Regions from separate parts of the Homo sapiens genome. Here region 2 is linked to region 1. The links are contacts of gene promoters, found by promoter capture Hi-C in human tissues and cell types (Jung and others, 2019). All regions are on one chromosome and are shown on one strand. Each heading gives the region's core, a stretch centred on a gene start or on the middle of the fragment in contact. The rest is flanking DNA. Distances are from core to core; before and after follow the strand shown. Region 1 holds the start of STC1 (stanniocalcin 1). Region 2 overlaps LOC107986930 (a long non-coding RNA gene).

Region 1 (7,508 bases), core at 1,461-3,960:
CATCACCACCAGGGCCCCCAAGACCCTTTTATCTTGCTATATCACAGTTCCAGACAGTTGCACAATGATTGAGGGCACTTGGATATCCACATACCATGACATTCTAGGCAGAAATTTTACACTGGGCATTTCATGTAGACTTCAGCTCCTTCCCCTAAGGTTCTCAAATGCATTGGCATGCATACTAGTTACATTCAAATCAATGGGCTGACCACTATTGTATTTCTTCAAAGGACAGTTTACCTGTTATTGGGAAACACTTGGCACACCTAGCAATGAACTTCCAGGCACAAGATAGTAAGTGAGCAAAATAAGAAGGAATAATAAATCAACATCAGAAAAAAAAAACACAAACACATCTTGATGCTTGTAGGACATCGTGTTCTGGTGAGAGCAACGGAGAGTTGGAAAAACAAAGTAGATGGCTGGTGGTAAATCATCACCCTACCAAGCCAAGCAGACCAACTCAGGGAAAGCCCAAGAGAAACAAATGGCACTGCCTTAGATGATGAATAATGGCCAAGGAGGTAGAGAATGCTAAAGAACAGAAGTCAAGACCCTTGGGAGGAATACGCATCTGTCCTCTTACTCCCTTTCTGGAAGAGAGCACTGAGAAATTCTATTGCCTTGCCTGGCATCTACTACTTCTAACTAAAGCAATACAAATAACCTTGAAGCTTTCCACAATACAAGCTTTGTTTTTTAAAAATGAAATAGCATAGCTTTTCCTAAATTCTTAAAAAGCAACAACAGCAGTTTACATCTTTCCCCACTGATCTTTCCCTCAAGAGCTTTCCCCCCATCTCCAGCCAGTGCTGCCTGAGCCTGTGTCTTACTATATGAGGTCCTGACATCCCGAACCTTTAGGAAGTATGACTGTGGCTGGTCATCTTCCCAACTCACCTGTAAGTACCTTCAGGACAAGAATAATGAACTTACCTTCTTCTCTATGTCTTCTCATTTATCCTCCCACATTGTCCCCTAGCACTCAGCCCAGAAGGTTCTAAAGAAATACCAATACTGCCTGTTAATATAAATTAAAATGTATTCTTGTTATATAATGTAAATCTGAAAATTCCCTTCCTTTCTTTTAGATATTTCCTGTATCCTTTATTCCTTCTATTCCTTTTTCTAGCAAACTTTCATACTTACCAAACAACCCTATTTTGTGAGGGATAGGCTATCATCACCCAGAACCGTCCGCCGCCCCCCCCCCCCCGCCCCCCACCACCCTATCACCCCACAACATACACAGAGCTGACACTTGGTTTAGTTTGTGGTTAACAGGGGTGGCACTCTTTCTTCAACTTTTGTTTGAAGGTTTTAGGATGCAAAGTAAAGCCACTGGCCCCATTTCTCTGCAAGATTATCCTGCCCAAATCTGTATGAATCACCAGTGGCCATTTCTCATCTACTTCCCCAAAATTATTAAAGGTTTTATTGTATAATACCTTCACCACCTTCCTACCCTAAGAAGTCCTCTTCTGGCTCATTAACCTCCTTCACATGTTGGGGACAAACCTCAGCATTGCCTACAACTCACTTATAAGAAAATATAAGTTTCTATACCAGGCATGATTTGTGATTGCAGTGCAATTTTCCTATTAAGTCTAGAGCTTATCATTCTTCTCTCCTACACATTCTGGTCTTTCTCTACCCCTTCTTTCCATTCTGCCCCCTTTTTTCCTACCCCTCTCCCCAAGAAATGAACTGGTTTCCATTCAGCAGGTTTAGTCTTGCTTTGGCCAGCTTATTGTTTCAAAGTGGTTATAAAGTTGCTGGGCTTGAACACAGATTATTAATTTTCAGGCATTCATGATGTCTCCCTGTTGAGTGTGGTATGTGCAGGTGTGCACATGTGTACCTGGGGTAACTAACACTCCTGGACTATGCAATTTTGCTGGTGACTGAAAAGATGAAGTCAAAGTTGATTTGATTATTGAAGAATCACATTATTTTAGAGGTATACAGAATGTCAGAGTCCAACTTTGGCGTTTTACAGATGGGAAAACGAGGTGGGGCAAGGTAAAAAGACTTAGCCAGAGTCATAGGTTGATCAGTAGGGGGACTAAGGCTTCAGCTCTGAGCTGTCATATCTCAGTCCCCCAAGGCTTTTCCACTCACATAAATTCCCCCTCAAGGGCTCAAATGTGTGAGTGAGAACCCAGGATGTCCACATACAAACAAAAATGCATCATAGACATGTGAACATGTACACACAGAGAAGATAGGGAGTTATTGCATTTGTAGCCTACAAAACAGAACCGAGAATGTGCTGTTAAAATTAGAGTAAAACTGCTGTAAGCAGGTTAAGTTCTCATCTAAAGAGATCACATTTCCCCACCATACCCCTGCTATCCATTTCCCCCAAGTGGCTCATTAGAAAAAAAGATGGCTAGATTTCAAAAAGCAACTTGGAGAGATTTCTATAGGATTTTTCTTTAGTTCAATCAATACAGAGTTATCTCTTACTTCCACGAAAATAGCTTTTTCACACATCTCTGCACACACAGTCACACACACATATAAAACATTGGCAGCAGGTACTTTTAATTTGCTGGAAAATATTTCTAAGAAGTCAAAAAGCTCCAGCTGAATTGCATGCCCTCTTATTGGCTCACCAGACCAGTTGAGGGACCTGATTGGTCCTTGATCCTGAGGACCGATAAGAACGGCTATAAAATCCCTGGGTGCAGCTCTTGGGCCCCCAGTTTGCAAAAGCCAGAGGTGCAAGAAGCAGCGACTGCAGCAGCAGCAGCAGCAGCGGCGGTGGCAGCAGCAGCAGCAGCGGCGGCAGCAGCAGCAGCAGCGGAGGCACCGGTGGCAGCAGCAGCATCACCAGCAACAACAACAAAAAAAAATCCTCATCAAATCCTCACCTAAGCTTTCAGTGTATCCAGATCCACATCTTCACTCAAGCCAGGAGAGGGAAAGAGGAAAGGGGGGCAGGAAAAAAAAAAAACCCAACAACTTAGCGGAAACTTCTCAGAGAATGCTCCAAAACTCAGCAGTGCTTCTGGTGCTGGTGATCAGTGCTTCTGCAACCCATGAGGCGGAGCAGAATGACTCTGTGAGCCCCAGGAAATCCCGAGTGGCGGCTCAAAACTCAGGTAAGCAGCAAACCCAAGAGCGGTTTCTCCCCCAAAGAGCTGTCCTCATTTGCCTCTCCCTTTTGCAACTGTGTCTGTGACGGCTGATCTTGATAATAAATGTGCTTCATGCCTGATGGCAATAAACTGCCAGTGTAATCCAATAGCCTTAGGCAGTGGAGCTCCTTTGTTTAATAAATTGCATGCAACTAAACGAAGAAGCTGGACGCTCTGCTGAGGGTATTTCATTGCATAAGCCTAGCCTGATTGCCTGAAATCTGGCACGTACCCTCTTGGAGGGGGAGGGGTGAGAGGGGAGGAAAGGCTTGAATGTTGGCATGCTTCAAAGCGCTCTCTATACTTTCCAGAAGCTGATCTAAGGTAAGACCTGGCTTGTTTGATGCTGTCCCTCTTCCTTTCCTCTTAAGACTCTACCTCTTCACTTCTTGACTTCTCTACCTAAGAGAATACACAGAAAAGCTCCCTCTTCAGACTGATTTTCAGAACCATAGCCCTCAAGTCTGACAAATCCAGGGCGGATTCAGAGAAAACCCTATACATCCCACCCCCAACCCTGCTGCCTGTCTCCCTCCTGGCTCTGTAGGGCTCCATTCAGTCGTCCCTGCAGCCCGTAGCCAGAGAGCCCCTAGAAAAAAAAAATTGTGAAACGTAGCAGCTGTTTCTCCAAGGGTAAGGTCTCACTTTCGTCTTGACTCTTGGAGCAGTTAATTGTGCATTATCTTGGCTTCTGAAGGAAAAGAATCATTAGGAAGCCTGCATTGACACCTCTGCCTCTTGACTTCTCTGGCTCCACTTGTTCCCCTTCCAATACTGCCCTCTGTCCTCCAACTGTCAGCAAAGACCGGATCACAGGTGTCAAAATGCTGCAGATGATGATCCCCTTGGAAGAGCACAGGTCCCTGCCGAGAGGAGGGCTTTTGCTTCACTTCCTTTTGTACTTAGTTGCTATAGAGATGCAGTGATTCACAATTCGAGCTTGCCTAAAACAATAGCAGCCCTAATGCATATTAAAACTGCTTAAAGCAAAGTTATAATTTAAACCCGTGGAAATATATAATTAGGGAAATGACTTGTAACATCCTAGAGGCTGCGGGTGGTGGGAGGGGGTGGGGAAGACTAACTGAACCATGCTTTTGATCTCAGAGGAGAATCCTATGGCATGAAGGCTGCAGATCATTCCTTGCCTAGCTGCCTGCCAGAACACCCCCCTTCTGTGGGAGAAAAATTACTTTTATGGGAGATCTTATCCAGAATGTAGAAAGCCTCATGCAAGTTTTTTGCGGTTTTCTTCCAGTCTTGCATAGGGAGGCCTTGGCCTGGTTATTCCACACCTGTGTTTCTTCTTTCTTTCTTTCTTTCTTTCTTTCTTTTTTAAAAGGCTTTTAATATGAAAGAGATTATGCATACCTCTAAGCACTGTCCTAGTGGAGGGTTGGGGTGAAACATGAACGGATCAGATTTCTTTTTGCCAATATGACGGTAAGTTAAAAGCCTGAAATCAGAAGGGTCTCCAAGTGGACTCCTGGCACAGTCTTCTCTGCCATTTAGACTAAAATCCCATGCTTTTTACTCGGGAGTGCATTTTTCCAAAGCTAGATGGATTCCCTGGCCCTTTTACCTCTTAAACCTGACCACTAGCCACTGTCTCCTTCCTTCCCATGCTTTCAAGTGCTAAGCAATGACCTTTGATTCTATGGAATGGCTTAAAGGCACTGTGCATTTCCAGACTTGAGCCTCACTTCTCCAGACACCAAAATTGTAGGTAATGGTGAAACAGGGAGCGTGTGTCTGAAACAGAGAACTCCCTCCCTGTCCATCATGTACTCCAGCAATCATAAACAAAAGGAGCCTGTCTATCCTCTCTTTCTCAATCAAATGGGTCTATCAATTGCCCCTCATGACAGATTCCTAGGATAAGTTCTTCTGACCTCATGTCCTTGAAATTCACCTCTGCACCCACTTGATCCCACCCAGCCATTCCTCACTGTTTGACCCAGAATGGATGGATTTGTCTCTTTCAGCTGAAGTGGTTCGTTGCCTCAACAGTGCTCTACAGGTCGGCTGCGGGGCTTTTGCATGCCTGGAAAACTCCACCTGTGACACAGATGGGATGTATGACATCTGTAAATCCTTCTTGTACAGCGCTGCTAAATTTGACACTCAGGTAATAAAACCTTGACCCCTGCTCCCACTGGCTGCTTGTCTTTAACAGTGTGTTAGACCATGGTTCTTAGGAACCAGTCTTGTAGGGAACCAGCCCTGCTTCTCAGCTTCCCCACTCTAAATTCCCATCTCAGCATGTGTATGCACAAGTGTGTGCATGCACACACACACACACACACACACACAGAGGCACTCATCTGGCCAGGAAATAGGTTCTGTATAAGACACGCCCCACTCACTCTAATGCATGATTCTAAGGAGCTAGTAGAGGCTGTCTTATAAGGCCAGGGGTAATAAGCCAAAAAGATTTTCCTCTGTAAGAGGACATAAAAACGTGCATAGAGCAAGGAAGTTCTCTCTGCATGACCTAGCATACTAGCTTTTGATCTGAATTCTCAAAGTCTCAATCTCAAGAATATGAAGTCAGATTACGACTATTTTTAAGCTGCAGAATGGTTGATCACGGTTCATCTTTTTTTTCTGTAATTTCATTTCGGTAGAGCTTAATTCTCAAGGGAATCCAGGGAGATGGGGAGAGGGCTTTTTTTTTTTTCAATCCTTAGCCGAGACATGCAATCTTCTCATTGCAAGGATATGCAGATGGCCATGATACGTTGCCCAGATGAGCCCCCTTAAATTCCTCCATGTATATGCCCATCCTCTTTGTCAGGTCAAGCTAAAGACCTCCCTCTTGTCCTTCCTCCATGGCAGGGAAAAGCATTCGTCAAAGAGAGCTTAAAATGCATCGCCAACGGGGTCACCTCCAAGGTCTTCCTCGCCATTCGGAGGTGCTCCACTTTCCAAAGGATGATTGCTGAGGTGCAGGAAGAGTGCTACAGCAAGCTGAATGTGTGCAGCATCGCCAAGCGGAACCCTGAAGCCATCACTGAGGTCGTCCAGCTGCCCAATCACTTCTCCAACAGGTACAAACTGAGTCTACTTTTTCACAATCAGGGGACTGGGAGCAGGTGGCTGGCTGGCAGAGCCAGACTGGGAGGGAGGGTTAAATTGCCACAGTCATGCTCTTATTTTAGCTTGCAGTCTTCCCAGCTTTTGCAGGAAAAAAATATGTTTGTGATTGGTTGTGACAGTTTAAGCAGCTTGGGCTTTTTTTTCCCTACTGTTATAGGAAAAGTCTTTTCATGCAGCTCATAGAAAGCCAGCCTCATCTGCAGCATCCCTGGGTGCTTTCATTGACCATTTTTTGCCATAAGCCTGAAGGGAATGGTGAAGTTTCTGGAAACAAGCTTTTAAGACATCAGATTTGGCTGAAACCATGACCGTGCAACAACACAATTGGCCATGATTAAAAAAAAAAAAAAAAAAAAAAGCCCTCTGGTTAAATGTCATAATGCAGATTTTAAGTCTCCATCTATTTCAAATCAGTCCCAAACACAGTCAGAGATTTCACTGGGTAGCCCAGAGCAAGCCATCTCACTTCCCTGGGGCTCAGATTTCCTTTGTAAAAAGCAAAATGGCTGGACTGGACCATTTTCAGGTTTCCTTCCAGGCCTTATGTTATCCCATTCCTCTAGCCCAAGATTTCCTAGAATGAGTGTGTTTTATGGCTGTCCAGATCCCATTCTCATCTTAGTATTCAAACACCACCCAAGGCCACTGAGCTAGTACAGTAACATCTGGGCATTGTACTTTTCAGTGTTTTTACCAGCCAGGAGTGAATTCCTGTTACATGAGACAGCTGGCATCCTCAGTTCATGTGCGTGGCCTGGAAAGGTTCCCAGCAAGAACTAAGAGATGCCAATGGGGTTGGCGTGGAGGTCTGGCAGGGGCAGTGCAGACCGGTCAAGTTTAGCCCCCTGTGATATCCCTCAGCCTAAAAACTTGACTCCCAGCCTTGAATTTCTATGATTCTTTGACTCTCCACTCAAATCTGCACATATCCACAATGATCAGTGCTTTGCATGTTACTCTGACCACCTGAGAGTTATCACAGGCTTATCTGATTAATTTCCTAGCCAGGTGCCACCACCCTTCTTAAGACAGTGGCAACAGCCAAGTCCCTCTGGGGCTTACAAGTGATTTAGTCATGTACATACATGCAACAAAAAAGTAGTTCCTCCTTAGGGAAAGGCTAAGGTGCCTAACACAAACGCTGTGTAAAATTTCTTTTTCACCCTTAACTACAGGTGAGTGCCCTTCAGAACCACAAATCAATTTGTAAAAATCACTTCTCTAGTCCTTGGAAGTGACTTTATCATGGGGTTCTAAATGGTT
Region 2 (7,508 bases), core at 3,309-5,808, 80 kb after region 1:
CTGAAGGTATTGGTTTCAGGACCTCCCTTGGATACTAAAATCCACCCATGCTCAAGTTCCTGATCTAAAATGACACAGTAATTGCATAAAATCTATGCACATCCTCTCCTATACTGTAATTCATCTCTAGATTTCTTATAACACGTAATACAATGTAAATGCTAAATACTTGTTATACTGTATTGTGATCATTGTTATACTGCATTGTTTATTTGTATCGTTTTTTACAAATAGCAGTTATATTGTGTTGTTTTTATTTGTATTATTTTTATTGTTGTATTGTCGTCATTTATTGGGATTTTTAAAAATATTTTCCATCCACAGTTGGTTCAATCTGCAGATGCAGAACCCACAGATACAGAGGGCTGGCTGTAGTTGTTACCATTATGTAGGATTATGAACAATACATTTCCTACACATTTATATTTTTCTTTACTTCCCAAATATTTTATAATCCACATGTATTTTATAACTGAATTTTAAAGTATTTTTAATAATAGATTGCTCTAAGTCTCATTGCACTCAAAGCAATTGGTTACCTATTTAGACCCAGAAGAGAACTTTGGAGTCATCTAGCCTAATTTCCCACAGACAGAAGTGCCCCCAACATGCCAGACCTCCAGGATCCTGGCTGAAGAGACCCTGACCCTCACAGACCCTTCTTCACCCAGAGTTCCCTGACATACAGAGGACAAGCCCCTGCTTCCTCTCCTCACGACTCTGCCTCAGATGTTTGAAAATAACTTTCATATGAAGGTCCTGAGACCTCTCCAAGTTAAATATCCTTGTTTTTTTTAAGTAATTTCTCAAATGGCTTCTCACAACTCTAGTTATACTGAGATTTACAAATGTCCTTCTTAAAATATGGCACCCATAAATGGAACAAGATATTCACGTCGCCATCAGACCAGGACAGCGGATACTGCCCTTGACATAACATTGACCATCAAATATATTTTTCTTTCCTTTTCTTTTCCTTCCTTTTATTTTCTTTCATTTCCTTTTCTTGTTCCCTTCCCTCCCTACCCTTTCCTCCTCTCCCCTCCCTGTCTCCCCCTTCTTCTTCCCCTTCTCTCTCTGTCTCTCTCCCTCCCTGTCTGTCTTTATATATTCCTATCTCTATCTCCCTATGGCAAAATGTTGCCTTTAATGGATGCAGACTTTCTCATAGAAGCATCTTATATTCCTATGATGATTTCATAAAATGTTAAACAGAAAAAGAGATGTGTATAGAGAAATGCACTGAGCCCAACATACTGTGAAGGAGGCATAGGAGCGAGTTCATGTTCCCATCCCAAACCCTGGGCCTTCTTCCTATTTGCAGAGGCCTCCTTCCCTCCTTATGTACTGTAGCTGCTCAAGCCTCCCCTCACTGTGGAATAAACTCAGGCTCATGTCTGTAAAACACTTATCCTCCCTTCTCAACATACACATCTGGCCTAGCCAAGAGGCATAATCTTGGTATTTGCCTTTATTTTCCAAGGTGACCACTTTTATTTGATAAACCCCAATTCTTACCAATGTGCCTATGGTCAATGATAGTTTTCTATTTTTCAACAGTTTGCATTTCAACAGAGAATAATGCCTCTGCTCACAAGTCACACACATCTAGGCAAACTGTCAAAGTGAAAAAAGTAATAACTTTACAAAAGTGGGTGTCATAATCTCCATGTTATAAATGAAAAAATGTCAGACCCTTAGAATTTTGAAGATGTTACCAGAGGTTAACCCACTCATGAGTGGCAGAGCTGAGAACCCAGTGACTGTCAACTCTGTACTGCCTTGCCCTGCTCCTCTAGATCAGTCACTGGGACCCCAGGTCCTTCATTCTCTCCCTTCCCCCACTAGGAGCATCCTGTTTCTCCAAACATAGTAGCCAGGGGGCTTCACTGTCTTTCTCTCCTCTCAAATCAAAGCCTGCCCTCCAATGCTCTTTTCCTGCAAGTGTGTTAAATACTAGTAGATATTGTCTGTCCAGCAGGTTATATAAAAGAGTTATATTATTTAGCTCTTTTATATATTAAAGAGCTAAATAATATAACTCTAAAGTCCGTTTTAAATATCAAGCTGGAGCAAGGAAAAAGTCCTCTGAAATCACACCGTATATTCCTCCTTTCATTAAAACTCACTTTGCCCTATTGCCTAAAGATTAAGATTTTAGAGCAAACTTGTCAATTCCAGGAGGGCGCTCTCTCTCTCTTGTTCCCTTCCTTTGGTCCCAGCACCTAATGCATTTCCAAGCACATTGCAGGACCTCAGTAAATACTTGCTGAGTTAATTAATGAATATCAATAGCCAACCACCTTCTGAAATGTTCTACAGGCCTGATGTGTAATTCCAAAGCCCACTTGACTTACAGATACTGAGCCCCCCAGGAAGGGGAGACCTGAGCTAGGGAAAGTTTCTTGTAAGTTGAGGCTCCAGATTTATACAAAAGAAAGAAAAGTTCAAAAAACTTCTCATTAAACTTTGGAATTCATTCACATAGTCAATAAGCATCTATTAAAGCCTTCCATGAAGAGGCACTGTGAGAGAGACTGAGTGAGCTGAGATGAATAAAACACGGCCCGTACCCTCAAGAAACCCACAGGCTACTCTGCAATACAGGCACATTAACAGATAATTGTGTCAAAATGAAGTAGGACTTCTCCTCCCCCATCCTATGGAAAGGATATTTTAAAACTATGAGAAATCTAATTAAACCTGTTACTGGGCCAGGCATGGTGGCTCATACGTGTAATCCCAACACTTTGGGAGGCTGAGAGAGAATCACTTGAGGCCAGGAGTTCGAGACCAGCCTGAACAAGATACGAAAACCCCATCGCTACGAAACATTTTTTGAAAAATTAACTAGGTGTGATGGCTCAGCCTGTTAACAACTGGCTGAGGCTTAAGGGCATTGGTAGCCACCAGGGTGGAATGGAATACTCATCACGAATGATAGGTTTTCTTGCTTTGCAATAGGCTGAGTCAATCACACCAGGAGAAGAAATAGTCTTTCCTCAAGCCTCAACTGTGTTGCCTGCCTTTATAAGGTGAGCTTGAGTTTAGTTAAAACTTGTAGAGAGATCACACTGAAATTAGAGCACCCACCTCCATCCTTATTTTGAGAATCAAAGTCCAACTCTACCCAGCCACAGGCAGCAATGAAAATTGGGACAAGTCCCATCAACATTCAGCCAATGCAAGAGGCATTCAGATATGTAAGGTGCAGGGGTTGGGGGCGTACACTTTGTATGGGGAACCGTGGAGTTTTCTGTGAAAGGTAATGGAGAAAAGGAAGAGAAAACAGATCAGAAAACAGGGAGCACCACCTGAGATGTCCACTTTTCAAAGACCTCCATTTGTAATGCCCTCCCTGGGCAGGCACAAGGGAACAAGCACATTAGATACAGATATCGTCTCCATTCAGTTCACCCTCTTTTGTTCTTTTGACATCTACACAGCCCCTCAAAAAATGACATATTCCTCCACTGTCAGAGTTGGGTCTGAAGAAGACTGGAAAAACTCTAGGAAGACATAGGAACTGCTCCTCAATCATGCTGCAGAGCCAAGGCTGGAGAGGCATCCATTTCTTACCCTTCAATCAGCACCTCTCTAAAGGCAAAGTCACCATTGATTAGCAACAGCTGCCTAGAAAAGCCCATGTCCAAAAGGCAGTAAATTCCCAGGTAATCCTTCATGCATTAAGAACAAGAATTAAAAGGCATGAAAAGTGAGGATCCCCCTACATGTGGGTTATAAAAAATATTATAATAGACACAGCAATGAAGATGTCAATAATAACTGCTATTTACTGAGTACTTAATATAGGCCCTGACACTACACGTACATTATTTAAGATCATCCTTCCACTATCCCCATAAATGAAATATCATTATCCCCAATACATAAATGGCAAAACTGCAGCTCAAAATTGGAAAATACTTTTCCCAAGGCCCCAGTGCTGCCTCTTATATCCAGGTCATGCTTCCTCTACAGTCCTTATTCTTTTCATTACATCACAGTGCTCATGTGTTGGCAGACTTTGGAGGACTCTGAGCAGAAGCTGTTTAAGGGCTCCAGGAAGGCTTCCCAGAGGAGGTTTCACCTGACCTGGGTCCTAAAGGGTGAGTATGAAATAGTCAAAGAAAGGGCAGGAAGAGGAAAGGCACCATCTTCACCAAGAGGACCATCTAAGCAGAAGAGTGATGTAAGCTGGAGCCCAGCAGGAGCTGAGAATGCTGAGGCCACCAGTGTTGTTAGAGCATAAACGTGAGACGGGCAGGCAGGAAGAAAGGGCAGAGGAGGCAGAGAGATCTGGAGAGGCTGGTTTGTGCTGGGCTTTGCATGCTGTTAGGAAGTCTGAACTTTCTCCTATAGACAGCATGGAGCTTTTGGAGGAGTTTAAGAAAGGGGAGTGATGTGATCAGATCAGCATTTTAAACACATCATCGTGGCAGATGTGTGAAGGGTAGATTGAATAGGAACAAGATTAGAGGCAGAGATAAGTCAGGAGACTGACAATAGTAAGGTGAAAAGTAATAAAGACTCAAACAGAATGTTTTTAATAGGAATGGAGATAAGAGACAAATCTAAAAATTAGAAAGAAAAGTTGGCAGGTCTTGGTGGTGATATAGATATTGCAGATAGGCGGGTGGGGGGTGGCATTCGGTGGTGCATGTGGCATTCAAATCACCAGAAACAGAGCTGGTTTAAGGAGAGAGTGAGTCCAGTGTTGGAGACATTGGGCTGAGGTGTCTGTGGGACCTTGAGTAGGATGTCTAGGAGGCAGCTGAATATACATGTCTGGGGGTCCCCATGGAGACCCGGAAGCTGCCAGCATGTAGGTCGTAATTGAGGTCATGGGTTTCGATGAGTTCTTCCAGGATGGAGGACCATGGGCTAAGGAGAGGACCCAAGAGAACACAAACAGTGAAAAGTTGGGCAGAAGGCCACATGCAGTGGCTCATGCCTGTAATCCCAACACTTTGGGAGGCCAAGGTGGATTGCTTCTTCCTAGGAGTTCAAGGCCAGACTTAACAGCATGGTGAAACCGTGTCTCTAGAAAAAATACAAAAAATCAGCCAGGTGTGGTGGCACGCACCTATAGTCCCAGCTACTTGGGAGGCTGAAGTCAGAGAATCACCTGAGCCCCAAAAGCTGAGGTGGCAGTGAGCCATGATCATGCCACTGCACTCCAGCCTGGGTGATGGGGTGAGATCCTGTCTCAAAAGAAAAAAAAAAAAAAGCTGGACAGAAGGTAGGGAGCTCCTGAAGGAAGTGTTAATAAATGGTTGGAAAGGAACTAGAAAAATCAGGAGACTAAGGAGTTCTGGAAGCCAGTGTATAACATTTTCAGAAGGTGAAAGTCATTCATAGTATTAGATTCGGAGGAAAGCTAGAGAAAACTCAGTACAAAAAAAAATCCTTCAGATATGGCTATTAGGGAGATGCTGTGACATCAAAAAAGCAGTGTCAGTCATGGTTTGCGAAGCGGTTAAGGGGGTTTCAAGGTCAAAGGAGAGTCAGGGGAACATCCGTATTATTAGGATGGGAAGGAAGTAACCATGTTTACAGACTGAGAGGAAGGAACTGCAAGGAGACAGAAAGATCAAGGATATTGGCCAAGGTAGGGAAAGAGATGGAGGGGTAGGTTAATGTATCAAAGTGATAGGAGCTGTGGTCAAAAGCACAGGCAAAGCAGCAAAGCAGGTGGCCATGGGCACGGAGCACAGGTGCACCCTGAGACGGCAGAAAACAGCAAGGAAACCAGAGCTGCAGGTACATTGGAAAAGATTCTGGGAAGATTTAAATATATTGAAGAAAATCATGCCCTTTGGTTTCCATTTTTCTTGACAAAGTAGAAAGCAAGCCTTCAGGCCTTTGTAGTGATGTTAATCCACAGAGTTGTGTGGTTATCTCCAGCAGGAGTCAGGAAACGGAATGATGGTTTGTGGGGAGACAAAATTCAACGTTGGCTTATTTGGGGATTTTGCAGCCAAGCAAAGTTGTGAGAAAGCCTAGAAGATGCATCTAGTGGCAGACAAAGAGTAACTTTAAGAAGCTCAATCTGGGGCAGTTCTGAGAGTCCCACTCAAGATACTGTCCTACAACTCCCAATGTGATTTTAGTCCTGGAGAAAGACAAGATTCTTAGAAGCACCTTGCACTCAAATAAGTTGAGCTTCATCATGCTAAGCAGACCCTGCTAGTTTTGGGTTGTCCTATAAAGAAGTATTAAATTGGGACAATTGGTAGGACTCCAGCTAGTTCAATGGCACAGGCATCTCCATGTTCCCTGGCACCTGTGGGGCTTATTTGCTTGTTTTGCATTTTGGGTGCTCCTAGGGGCTAGATTAGTCCATGTACCACGCCTTACCCTTCTCCCTACTGCTTTTGTAGCTTTATTTCTCTTCCAATAAAAGAAAATGTTTCAGCCTCAAAGCTTTTAAAACCAGTTAATTCCAGGGCTCTCAAAACCAGTTAATTCCAGGGCTCTCACCCTCTCCTCTTTGACCTTGGCCCATGCTCCTCTGCCTCCCTGCTGACTCAAAACCCCATGTATGCTACTGAAAGAGACTCTCTCCATCAGCTTGCCTTGACTAAAGCTCACCCTTCCCCAGCATCACTGCTTTCCTTTGTAGCTCTCTAGAACGGGGACTGCATGCATTCCTGTGCCCCATATACTAGAGCTGGAATATTCTCCCAGATCTTCATAGTCACATTGAAAGTCCCTCCCTATTGGCCCCCATGCTGTCTGGCTCTACCACTCACTGACTCTTCTCACAGTATTCATGTCCTGACCTCCCAGTAAATCCCATTATGGTCATCAAACTTCGGCAACTGAATCACTAGCTTCTTCCTCACCTTAAGCACTGCTGGCATCCTGTGGACAACGCTTCCAGCACCCTGGTTTCATTGTCCCAAGGTCAACTGCTCCACTAGCAAAATATTAGCCTCTTGGACCCTGGAGCCCACCTCCAGTGAAAACATCCCATCCTTGCAGCTTCCTCCCTCTTTTTTCCTACCCTACTCTCCAGCTTCATGGAGCACCCAGGCCCTTGAAGCCTTTCCTCCAAAGCTCTTCACCCTCCTCTGCTTCATCTCCACCCTTGTCCAGGCCAGACCCTAAGTGGAAGAATGTCAACCACTTCTCCCCATCACTCTCAACTCCCTTGTCCTGCCCTGAGCTACGCTGGTCCCTCAAGCTCCCAGGATCCCAACTATCCATGTTCCCCAGGATTACAGGACTTACTAAAGAAACATTACAGCTGGGGAGATTCGACATTCCCAATATATAGATTCCATTCTCAGCCAAACCCTCAGGTCTGCCAAGATATCCTGTTATATACCTGAGTCAGCTCTCTTTCCCCAGTCTCTGCAGTAATGATTCCAACTTTAATACTCTTTTCAAACCCTCTCCATAACAACATCTCCACTCTGAATAAGGTACTTGCCTCTTATTTCACCAAAAACAGGATGCCTCAGGCAAGATCTCCCTCGGCTTCCTAAGTGTTTCTGTACCTA

The links. The method cuts DNA at HindIII sites, captures the fragments that hold promoters and counts their contacts. A contact is called where the count stands out against the background at its distance.
Region 2: a contact is called between a fragment that was not itself captured here and the fragment with the promoter of STC1 in region 1, in 2 of the 25 tissues and cell types used here (liver and thymus).

The regions. Positions count from the first base shown.
Region 1 is chr8:23,850,008-23,857,515 of GRCh38, reverse strand. It overlaps STC1 (stanniocalcin 1), which reads left to right and starts at 2,710. Exons shown (of 4, transcript NM_003155.3): 1 at 2,710-3,110; 2 at 5,132-5,274; 3 at 5,985-6,196. The coding sequence starts at 2,993. The HindIII fragment of the contact is 6,962 bases long and covers 1-4,702 here.
Region 2 is chr8:23,771,496-23,779,003 of GRCh38, reverse strand. The region is part of intron 3 of LOC107986930 (a long non-coding RNA gene); the gene reads right to left. Among named protein-coding and RNA genes, the nearest start is that of NKX2-6, 68 kb to the right of the region's middle. The HindIII fragment of the contact is 7,348 bases long and covers 885-7,508 here.